2 separate regions of the Homo sapiens genome follow, and region 2 is linked to region 1. The links are contacts of gene promoters, found by promoter capture Hi-C in human tissues and cell types (Jung and others, 2019). All regions are on one chromosome and are shown on one strand. Each heading gives the region's core, a stretch centred on a gene start or on the middle of the fragment in contact. The rest is flanking DNA. Distances are from core to core; before and after follow the strand shown.

What was found. The method cuts DNA at HindIII sites, captures the fragments that hold promoters and counts their contacts. A contact is called where the count stands out against the background at its distance.
Region 2: a contact is called between the fragment with the promoter of CLEC4A here and the fragment with the promoter of FAM90A1 in region 1, in 1 of the 25 tissues and cell types used here (mesendoderm cells).

Annotation. Positions count from the first base shown.
Region 1 is chr12:8,225,575-8,231,682 of GRCh38, reverse strand. It overlaps FAM90A1 (family with sequence similarity 90 member A1), which reads left to right and starts at 4,065. Exons shown (of 7, transcript NM_018088.3): 1 at 4,065-4,203; 2 at 5,205-5,411; 3 at 5,691-5,847. It also overlaps the pseudogene ALG1L10P and the pseudogene FAM86FP. RefSeq lists an enhancer at 4,454-4,503. The HindIII fragment of the contact is 5,625 bases long and covers 1-5,237 here.
Region 2 is chr12:8,119,879-8,125,986 of GRCh38, reverse strand. It overlaps CLEC4A (C-type lectin domain family 4 member A), which reads right to left and starts at 2,370. Exons shown (of 6, transcript NM_016184.4): 1 at 2,027-2,370; 2 at 310-426. The coding sequence starts at 2,108. RefSeq lists an enhancer at 2,451-2,500. The HindIII fragment of the contact is 11,068 bases long and covers 1-4,588 here.

The DNA.
Region 1 (6,108 bases), core at 2,816-5,315:
CTGGTTTAGCTTGCCTGCAGGATCAGGAGAGTTTGAGAAAAGCATCTGCAAAATGCTAAAGAGCAGAGCTTACCTCATTGCCTGTCCCCATCTCATCCCAGGTCACCACCTGGCTGACCCCAGGTCCCCGACCCAACAACAACCCCTCCCAAGTCCCTAACTCCCTCACTTGGACTTGAGACCCTTCACAACCCAGCAGCGCTCCGCCTCCAACGTGACATCATGCTTTCTGGAAACTTCCCCGTATGTCCCACTTTCCCACACTTGGTGCCCTGGAGCACCTTCCGGCCTCTACATGCTGTACGTTCCCCTGTGAGCACCCTCCTCTCGGCCTCTGGCCAACACAGTCCCACCCATCTGTGGGTAACAAACGGGTGTGTGTGTTCTTTTCAGCCTTGCTAAACTGTCTGAATCAAGGATCACAAACTACAGCCTGCAGGCCAAAGCCAGCCCACAGCCTGTGTTTGTAAATAAAGCTTTATTGGAACAAAGCCACACCCCTTAATCTACAGATGATCTGTGGCTACTTTCACACCACAACAGAGTACCATGGTTCTGACAGAGACTGGGGGACCCTGTCTAAATGACTTCTGACCTGGACCTTTACTGAAAATCCTCCCAATCATTCTGTTGACAAGAATGGTGTATTACTTTTTGCAATAAGAAACAAGTAACCTTTGCAGAATTCCACCCATCTTTCAAGGCTGATCCCAGAAGTTCCCTCTGCCCACGCACCTACCTGATCCTGATCACTTCCTAAACTGCAGCCCGGCCCACCCGGCTCCAGCATCATTTGTGGAGTCTCAGCTCCATAAATCCAGAGGGCAGGTGGGGGTGTGTCCTAATTTTCCCGAGCCTACTGTACCGAAACAGGACAGCAGAGTAGGAAGCCTCTGTGACTTCTGCTCCCTCCCTAGCTTTTCCACCAGACCCTGCATGGTCCCACCCTGGCTGTGTGAAGCAGGGATCAGGGAGCGTGGCTCGATGTCAGTCTCCAGAACCCTGTCCACCCTGGCGTGGTGGCAGACATGGCTACCTGCAGCTGAGCTGCCAGTTCCTCTGAGTCCTCAAAGACCAGGCCATTTTCTTTATGTTTCACCAGCTCATGTAAACTGCAGAGAGAACCAAGGGAGCCTGAGAGCTGCCTGGGGAAGACACCAGACCCCTGGGGTGCCCAGCTGGGCTCCCACCCACCCCACGCTCAAGCCAGGCTGGGGGTTGGAACAGGGGGTGTGGTTTCTGGGAGCTGGTTCTTAGATTTGGCATCTGAAGGGTATAAAGGCCTGGGGGGGGTGCACATCAAAATGACCAAATCGATTTGAGGAGAGAGCCTTAAGGAAGGTTTGTACCTTCTGTGCTGGATGCTCTTCAAGGACTGAAGAATTATTTTTGCATGTTTTTCTTAATTCCATGGCCATGGAACAAGTAAAGGCAACCCCCTGGGGACTGGTTCAGCACATAAAAGATGACTTTTCTAGGACACCAGATTTGATCCCGACATTCCCTGAGCTCAGCTCACATGAGGGGCTCGCATCCCTGAATCCCATCCAGGAGCTGGCTCCTGAGCAGGGGCCAAGGGCTCAACTTGTGCTGGGGCTACTGCTTCTAGAATCTCCTCTAACGCCGCCCTTCCAAACACCCGTCTATGCTGGGTGCAGTGAGGCCACAGCATGACACTCATTTAACTCGTTCAAACCCAGCACGTGAGCTTGGCCAAAAGGGACATGGTGGGAGAGAAAAACAAAGAAAACCATGTAAGCCTGCAGGCAATTCCCGCCAATTCTACTCTAGGAGCAAAAGCCCCGAGTGGAGTTCTTGTATTTAAGGTACTTTTTTTTTTCATATTGGGTTGGTGCAAAAGTAATTGCCATTTTTAATGGCAAAAACCGTGATTACTTTTGTACCAACCTAAATATAACATGAGCTCTAAATGGAAGCAACTACTTCAGTGAGGCTCAGCCCAGCCACAGCAACCGCAGGGCTCCTCCTCGTGGCCTCCAGTGTGTGCTGGACTGACCGAGGGGCAGGGCCTCACTGTGGGCAGCTCACTCTGCACTGCTTCCCCCTCAGTGGTGGATCTGTGAAGCTATCCCCAGAAAGATTGGGGTTCTGCTCCTACCACTTGAAGTTCACGGCACACGCAGGCAAACAGCACCTGAACATGTCCACCACCTTCATGGGCAGGTCCAGGCCACTGGAGGATGTGTCCAGAGAGACACCCAGGTCCACTAACCCTGCTAGGCAAGAGGGGTGGGTCAGAGCGCTGGTCTCTGCCCTGGGAACACAAATCCTCCCAGCACAGTGAGACAACTTCCCCCGAGGGGAGTGAAAATTGGATAAGGTCCCCGACAACCCCAAGCACAAGTGGCTTAAGGTGGCCAAGCAGCCACACGGCCTGGGTGGGACATCTGAAAATGTAAGTTGACACTTTTTCTACATAGCCACAATTTGTTTTTTGTTGTTGTTGTTTTGTTTTGTTTTGAGACAGAGTGTCACTCTGTCACCCAGGCTGGAGTGCAGTGGCACAATCTCAGCTCCCTGCAACCTTCACCTCCCAGGTTCACCTCCCGCCTGTAATCCCAGCATTTTGGGAGGCCAAGGCGGGTGGATCACCTGAGGTCAGGAGTTCAAGACCAGCCCGGCCAACATGGTGAAACCCCATCTCTACTAAAAAAAAATACAAAATTAGCGAAGCTAATTCGTGGCAGGTGCCTGTAATCCCAGCTACTCAGGAGGCTGAGGCAGGAGAATCGCTTGAACCCGGGAAGGCAGAGGTTGCAGTGAGCCAAGATCGCGCCATTGCACTCCAGCCTGGGCTACAAGAGCGAAACTCCGTCTCAAAATAATAATAATAATAATAATAATAATAATAATAATAATAATAACAAGAGCGAAACTCCGTCTCAAAATAATAATAATAATAATAATAATAATAATAAACCACATCACACCCACCACAAACCAGCTGTCAGTGTGAAAATAAAGCCAAATAGCTTAACATTTCTAAAGACTAGCTGGGGCTAGGCATGATGGGTCAGGCCTGGAATCTCAGCACTTAGGGAGGCCAAGGCGAGAGGATCACTTGAGGTCAGGAGTTCAAGACCAGCCTGGCCAACATGGTGAAACCCTGTCTCTGCTAAAAATACAAAAATAAGCCAGGTGTTGTGGCGGGCTCCTGTAATCCTGTAATCTACTTGGGAGGCTGAGGTGGGTGAATCGCTTGAACCCAGGAGGCGGAGGTTGCATGAACTGAGATCGTGCACTCCAGCCTAGGCAACGGAGCAAGACTGTCTAAAACAAAGACTAGCTGGAGAATCCTGCCAGGAAAAGGCCCTCAGACTCCAACTGCTCTGCTCACTCGAAGCTGGAAGATGCGGCTCTAGAGACGCATCAGGACCAAGCCACGACTCCCCACTTGGAGAAATCAACGCGGAAAGAGACGGAGGCAAAGGAGAACCATCGCACTGGGAGAGGCGACGCTGTTTGACACATCGTCCCTGTACCTCCCAAAGCCACTGCCCTCCCACACCTGGGCAACAGTGGCCCCAACCCCAGGCCCAGCCCTCCTGCAGGAAGGAAGAGGACTGAATGGAGGGCGTGGCAGACTGAAAGGACGTGGCCTCCTCAAACCCCTTGGTAAAGGGCCTCTGGGGCCACCTGGCAGGGAGGGGCTGGCACACCAGGAAGTAGCCTCCTCCCGGGAGTTCAGCTAGAGCCCAGGTCCTGTCCCCAAGTGGCCTCCAGAGCCACCTTTTCTGAAAAAAGTACATCCTGCCCACCCCTGTTCCCCCTGCTTAAGGCCCCGCGTCCTCCCTGAGCCTCCTGCTGGCCTCTCACCTAGAAGCGGGGGTAGTCCTCGGCCCTCCAGCCAGGGGGTGCAGACCTGGATGTGCTGGAAATGCTTCTGGTGGATGAGGCGGCTGTAATACTCCCTCAGAGGCCCTTTGCCTTCACAGAGAAAAGCAGACACTGCCATGGACCCGTCTCTCTCCGTGCCACGTGGCCCCAGGCCCAAGACACTCCCCCTAGGAGGGATCCTTTTCCCAGAAGCTCCACCCCTCGGCAGCTCCAGTCAGGCCCCATCCGGGCCCTTCCAGAAGCAACCCAGGAGCCCCGAGACCTGCAGGGATGTGTGCACCCTGACCCCTGACGCATAGCCCTGCACCTGCAGCCAGCTGGCCTCGGGCTTGAAAACATGGCGGGGTAAGCACTGGCCTGGCACCCGACCGCCCACTGGGTGGACCCAGCCTTCTGTCTGTGTTGTGCGCAGGGGACACGAGGACTCCCGCTGCCCTGACACAGCCCCCAGATCACATGGCGCAGGTTCCAAGCCGCCCCTGCCCTGCCACAGCCCCCAGAGCACACGGCGCAGGTTCCAAACCACTCCTGGGAGCCTAGAGGCCAAAGGAGGGAGGAGAGCAGGACCAGCAGCTGGCCCAGACCCCGCCTCTTCCCACACCGCTTCTGCTTTTCCCCCTCCTCACTGAGTCATCTTGAAAGGGCTCAGCAGCAGTAACTGAGGGACAGGGGCTCTTCCGTTTGAAAAATTAAAAGAGGCTTGGTTAAGGCAACAATGACATGACCGGGCACAATGGCTCATATCAATAATTCCAGCATATTGGGAGGCCAAGGCAGGTGGATCACCTGAGGTCAGGAGTTCAAGACCAGCCTGGCCAACATGGTGAAACCCTGTTTCTACTAAAAATACCAAAATAAGCTGGGTGTAGTGGGCACCTGTAGTCCCAGCTACTCGGGAGGCTGAGGCATGAGAATTGCTTGACTGTGAGACGCGGAGGTTGCAGTGAGCTGAGATCACACCACTGCACCCCAGCCTGGGCGACAGAGACTGTGTCTCAAAAAAAAAAAAAAAAAAAAAAAAAGACATCAATGAAGAAACAAGAAAAAAAAAAAGATGCTTGGAAACTACTGAAAAATTAGAAAGCTTGGTATGTACAGATTCACATCTGGGCTCCCTGCCCTGCTGTGAAACCCTCTGAGCTTCAGTTTCCCACATGTAAAGCAGTATAAGACCCTATGGCAGAGAGCTGCAGTGGGGATTAAGGAGACAAGATCGTGGGAAGCACAAGGTAAAGGCGGCGTGCCCCTCCCTGGACTCCAATGCCTGGAGTCTCAAGACCAGCTGAAAAGGGAGCCAGGCACTGAAGGACAAAGCGGTGTTGACTTTCTTCATCTGTGTTTCCCAGTGCGCTCCAATTCACGGTGGTTTCCAAGCGCATTCTGGAGGAGAAAACACATGAGTGTGTGGTCAGGGTTCTCTGCTGACAGACCTACCGTGGGGAAGAAAGAGAAGCTCTGAAGATGGATCATGGCCGTGACTGCATGTCAAGGAGAATCTCCATGATGACACGGAGGCCTACGTCGAGATAGAGTAAATATGGTCCAATTAAAAGGTGTCTATTTTACCACATTTTTTAAAACAAAACAAAACACAAAAACAAAAAAGATGGAAAAGAAGACAGGGGTACAGGCACCAGTGTTACATATCTGACGGGGAACATCTATTCTTCAAAGCTTGCAGCTGTACACGTAGGTTTTAGAATGTCTGTCAGCAGTGGACATGATCTTAGAGTGGGCTGTGCAGATAGACCTTTCCGAGTCATGTAATTGGATTAAGTTAATTGTAATTAACCTACATGTAACTGATTAGGTTAGGGTACGTTCCACGTCAGGTGACCAGAGGCAGTATAAAAGGCAGCCTGGAAAGCAGAGGTCCCTCTCTGCCCCTTCCTCCGTCTTCCTGGATGCTGCATCGCTTCCAGCGGGGCTGCTCCAGCACCTGCCCATCTCAGCGCCAGCCGGGGAAAGAAAGTAGACGTGTAATTTCAGGTTAGTTTCACTGAACAGTTGTTTGTTTCACGCAATCCCTGAGGGGTGGGGGGGAAAAGAGACAAAGGAGGCCGAAAGAAAGCGATCACACTGGGGCTTGCTGATGCGGTAGGGTGTGCTCTCGTTACTAGTAATTCTTGGAACAGAAAACGAGAAAGCATTTCCGTCTCCATGTGTGGGATAAGACCAAGGTGGGAATGCGAAAAGAAATGTACTGCAGCATGCTGAATTGGTGGGTAAATGGAAAAAGGACTTTGGAAA
Region 2 (6,108 bases), core at 1,121-3,620, 100 kb after region 1:
TTGTCCTCACTTACATAGTGTCTAGTATAGAGATGATGCCCCATAGATTTCACTCTACAACACAAATACATACACCCACATTTATGCTTCAGTTTCTCTAAATGAGAAGGGATTCCATTATTTTTACAGGACAGTAACTAAATCCAAATAAAGAGCAAAATTCACAGTGGATTCCCATGAATTATGTCTCCCCAGAGAAAATTTCATTTCAGATTTCTGGATAAGCTCATTTTCAAAAGTCAGTTTTTAAAGGATACCCTCTGTTCATGGACAGCAGATATTGCTTATTGGTTCAGTTGGCATACTTACTGACAAAAGCAATAAAGAATGAGATTGCCAATAGCAGGAAAAATATCAACAGTGAGGCACAAAGCAGCTTGGGGAATCCGGTATTACTTTTGTGAGGGGCAGTCCTCTCCTTGGAAGCTGAAGAAGAAGCCAAATTAGTTTTATCAGTAATAAGTTTGGTCTTTACTTCCTCTTCTTCCTCCTCCTCTTTCTCTCTCTTTTCTTGGATGACACACAGTTACTAACGGTATGACATTTGAAATCACATGAGAATAGGAATAGAAAGGATATAATAATATTCACTGTAGAAACTTTAAAAAATACATAAAAGTACGAATTCCTACAATTGAGGATAACTGTTATGCCATATAACTTATAATATACCATAATATTTTGGTATATATCTTTCTAGCAATTTTTTGAATGTATATATACACATATGCAAATTTTCCCACGATTGACATACCATAAATACTGATTTCTGACCTATTATTTTCCTTTACACTATATCATGAACATTTTTCATACCATTATATTTTCTTCTTTAACACTCCTTATTATGGTTGCATAGTATTTCATCATATATTTAAATAATGGTTTCCAACTTTAAATAATGCTATAGCAAATAAATCTTTATAATCATTCCTCATCACATGTTTAGAATAAAGTCAGTCTTTTTAGTTACCATCTCATGGTTAGGAATCACTTTCTTCGAGTTATGATATTTTGTCAAATGATGGGGGAAAAAAATTCAGTATTATATAATATGATTACATTTTTAGTAAAATACATATGCACATTATATGTATTTGTATGTGGAAGGATATTCACTAAATTGCAAATTATGATTTTCTCTAGATGATAAGAGTAATTATAATTCAAATATCTGTGTACCTCTGGTTAATTTTTTCTACAATGAACATTAATACTTGTGTAATAAAGAAATTATATAAAGTTTTTAAGGAGAAAAAATTTCCCTAAGTGCTCTCCACACCTTCACAGAGGTATTTTAGAAAGCGTAACTATAGTCCTGACCCCTTCCCCCATAGTTTCTTGTACTCTATATACATTCTTTTCTCTCTTTTGCTCTATACTTGAGATATCACACATGACACCCAAATCACCTTGCATCTACTCCCAAACGTAACAGAGTCTGTCTCAGAGATGCAACACGCAATAGGTTCTCTGATTTCAGAAAAAGTTTCCTGGAGATTTAAGAGACTTTCTTTGTAGACTTTCTAGTCTTTCATTTGCAAAGGCCTTTTGTTACATTTCCATCCATTACCAACAAATATACCCTCACCACTGTCCACCCAAACTCTTTCCCTCTAACTGATCAAAAAACAAATCTCACAAATTCATCAGGACCCCCTGCATCTGGATTGATGGTTTCAGAAGCTGTACTCAATCTCTTAACCCCAGCCCCACTCAGCCTCAGAAAACACAGGGGCATCAGAGCACTCGCCTTAGCTCAGAACTGGAGTGGATTTCTCTCACCTCTGTTTCAGTAAGCAGAGTGGAGGCTGAAGAGAGTGGCACAAAATCTTTTCTTCTCCACAATACAAATGTACACCCCGTAATGCGTATCTGCAGGCCACTCAATCTTCTGGGACTCTTGTGTTTCCCAGACATACTCAATCAGACAACCAGCAACTGAAAACACCTATGCCTTATTCATAAACCCTCTCCTCATCCTTCACCTCGTCATTCACTCTGACCCCTAGAAAATGATCTTTACCTGCAGAAGAGGCTGTGTTGATGCCTGAGGACTTGAATTCATTTTTGAACCTCACTTCAGCATAAGTGATTTCCGAAGTCATAATGGGAAGAGAGCTTCTGCTTTCTTCAGAAAATCTGTTTCAGATCTTTCTTAAAACATCTTATAAACAGGAACCAAACATGGTGGTAAATTACCTCCTTCCTTTCACTCAACTAGTGGAGAGCAGAGGCACCAGATAGGCACATATCCTCAAGAGGGGTCTCATGAGAACTAAGAACCACAATAAAAACTAAAAACCGCAGTTCACAGAAGCCCTTTCCTCAGGACCAGTATAGTGAGAATCACAGCCTTGAAACAAATGCAAGCAAATGCAATAAAAGTGGGAACTCAAAGGGTTGCGGAAAGAGGAAGAAAAATAAAAGAAGAACCAAGCACTTAGAGTCTTTCTGGAGAACTGCGTTTTTCACCAGTAAAAAATACAATTTCTGTGCTTCCACACACAAATGTAATTACTTTTGACCAAACATCCTGAACATAGACTTATGTTGCATTCATCTCATCAATTTTGACTGATCAGGCAACTTGTTAGTACCACATTCTAAGAGTATCATTGACACAAAACTCACATATCAGCCTCCCCACCTTCACGAATTAGTTTCCTGTAGCATGGTGGGGATGGCAAAGTTTAAACCCCATGTCTTCTGAAGCTGTTCCTCCATGCTCTCTGTGTTTCCTTGTTGGTAACTAACTCTATCAAAAGTCTGCATTCATCTTGCTAGAATCTCCAGAAAGCAGCTCCCTTTACTGGATGTTGGAGGAGAGGGAAGGCCAGCCTTTATTCCATGCTTCCCTAACCTTTTAATCGCCACATCACCTCCAATATATATGACTATTTTTTAACAGTTAGGAGAATTATATAGAATCACAGTATAGAAGGGGATAAACTTAAACAAAGTACTAAATATGACTTTTTCCAAAGGCCTAGAAGAAAACACTCCAAATATTAAATCCTTCATGTGGAATCTCTCCATAGACATGCTCCCAGCTCACACCTGGATTCTCTGCCCTCAACTCTCCGCAAATGATCCTCCTTTTAATCTCCCCCAGCTGATTCCTTCTCCTGCATAACACACATGCATACATGCATGCACACACACACAAACACACACGTCTATATTTCTATATTATTTCTATATCTAAATATATTGAACACCATGAGTTCACACTAATTCCTCTAATTCCAATCTAACACCACAAGTTTCATTCTAGTTTTCTCCCTTCCCACATTCCTAACTCCTTTCTGTGACACTAAGAAACCTGCTTTCATTGTCTTTCACTTATTCCTTATTTGATCAATCTCCTGGATGTCGTCAATCTCCCACCTGCTAAGATGTCCCTCTCTTCCTAGTTGGGCTCTGACTCCCCAGTCCAAGCCACCATCCCCTGCGCGGATGCCCTCCCTCCTCACTCTGAGAGTGCCGGCAAAGGGCCAGCCCACTCCCCACCCCCATGAACATCCCCCAACAAACATCCCCCTCACCCTGCCAAGGCTCTGACTCCCTGTGCTAGGCCATTCCTCTGCAGGAAAGCCCTCCTCACTCTGCTTGCACTCTGATTCCTGATGCTGGTCCCCTAGTCACCACTTAGACCCCCTTAGGTTCTAATGCTCCACACAAGGTCACCCTATGGGTGGAAGCCCTCCTCACCCTGGAGGGGTCTGATTTCCTCACCGGGCTATCCTACCACATGGACCACCTCCTTATCCTGCTAAGTTTCTGAAACCCACACCAAGTCCTCCCTCTGCATAGAAGCTTTCTTCATCCTGCTTGGGCTCTGACACTCCATGCAGGTCCTCCATCCCCCAGCAATAATGTCCATCTTACCCTACTTAGGATCTGAGTTCCCTCACTGGGCTACCCCACCACATGGACACCCTCCTTATCATGCTTGGTCTCTGAAACCACACCAGGTCTACCCTCTGCAAGGATGCTCTCTCTCCTCATCCTGCTTAAGTGCTGAGTCCCAACCCCAACTGGGCCAACACTAGGCATGGGTGCCCTCCTCACCTCTCCCACATGCTGACATACATACCAGGCTGGCCCTAGAGTACTCTGCTCAGCCATTTGCGACTCTGACTCCCTATAGAAGGTAACCTCATACATGGATGCCCTCCTCACCCTGCTTGCACTCCAACTCACTGCACCTGACTATCCCACCACATAGATGCCTTCTTTACCTCTCAGACTCTGACCTCTCACATCAGGCTACCCCTACTATGGACACCCTCCTCAATCTTATCCTCTGACACCCTGCACTGGGCCATTGCCAGGAGTGGACATCTCCTCGCTCTGGTTCCCCATGCCAGGACACTTTCCCACCCCTAAGGGATGTTCTTCTCACTCTGCTTGGGCTCCAGAACCACTGTCAAGCCAATACCCTGCATAGTCACCCTTCTCACCCTGCTAAAGCTCTCCCCCTGTGCCAGGCCACTGCTGCTCTCCCAGCCACCTCACCATAGACACCTATCTTGCTACTGCTTTATTTAGAATCAAATTATTTAGTAAGAAAAGGGAAAGGGGAATGACAAAGCATAAGGGAAGGATAAGGGAATTTTAAGTTCTCCACAAATTAATGATTGGGCCTAACCAGCACATGCACGTAGACAGGTATACATGCACACATATTCCCTGAAATAACAATCATTGATTCTCAGAGTCTTTACAATCTAAGCTCATAATTAGAAAGCAAACCATATTCCTAAAACTATAGCTCTCTCCCTGGAATAAGTCACATTATAACTGGATTACACCGTATCACCAACAACCCCAAAATCCAAGTGGCTTACAACAACAAACATGTATTTCTCACTTACATTACACTTGTGCTTAGGGCCACCTTGGAGTTGACTGCAACTCTGCTTGGCCCCTCTCCAAGTGTTTTCTCATTCTGGAAGCTGAGATCACAGAATAGCTCCTTGTAAGCTGAACCATGTAGTAGCATCCTTTATTCAGATAAGGTGTACGTTGTATTTGCTCTGATTCTGTTGGCCAATGCAAGTTACCTGAACAAACCTGCAAGTGAGACAGGGAAATATACTTTGTCTACAGAAAGACATGTCAAGGGTATCAAAGTTTAATCCTTTCACAAAGGAGAACACAGACATTTGGAAACAATAATAGAATCTATCCCCTTATCCCTTTAAATTATTTATCCAAGAGATCTCTTGGGCAGTGATCTCCAAAATGGGGCACAAGTACCTTAGGCAGTATAAAAGAGGATCTGCTAAGGCACAGAGAAAAAAACACTAAAACATCTATTTACATTTATTTAAAGTTTTAAGGAAGATAAGCTTTACTAGTATTGATTGCATGTCATGTGTGGTATGGTACCTATTATGAGGGAAGACTGGAAGTTCCACAACTCTGAGAGGCTGACAGTGTGCCTTCACTTGTTCGTTCACTCTCTGAATATTGCATCATGTTGCAGTTAACCTAGGTAATAAAGAATTTGCCTGGATTTTGTTCCCACTTCCTGGAGGTAGCCTTTAAATCCTTGGAATTTTCCAAATAATAGGATTGTCTTTGTTATTCATGGTGGGCCCGTATATCTCATGCTAATGAGGTCTCTCATGATGGGCTCTAAGATAGTTTATGCTAAGAAGGTGATTCAGGGTGGGGCTGGCCATGCCGGAAAGACCAGTCATGTGATTGGCGCATTGAAGCCCTGAGCCATGTTATATCAGCCCAGGTGGGGAAGGGAAGCTAGAGACTGAGTTCAACTTGTGACCAATGGTTCAATCAATCATGCCTACATAATGGACCCCAGTAAAAACTCTGGGCACTGAAGCTCCCCTGATTGGCAATACTCTGTGTATTATCACACATTAAAGTTCTAAGAAAGTGATATATCAATGGGGTCAATGGAAATTTCCATTTAGGACCCTCTCAGTCCTTACCCCATGCATCTCTCCCTCTGGCTGGTTCTGATTTGTATCCTTTTGCTATAATAAAACTGCAATCATAAGCATGGCACTATCCTGAGTTCAGTGAGTCATTCTAATAAATCATAAAACCTGAAGGGATCATGGGAAACCCCAAATT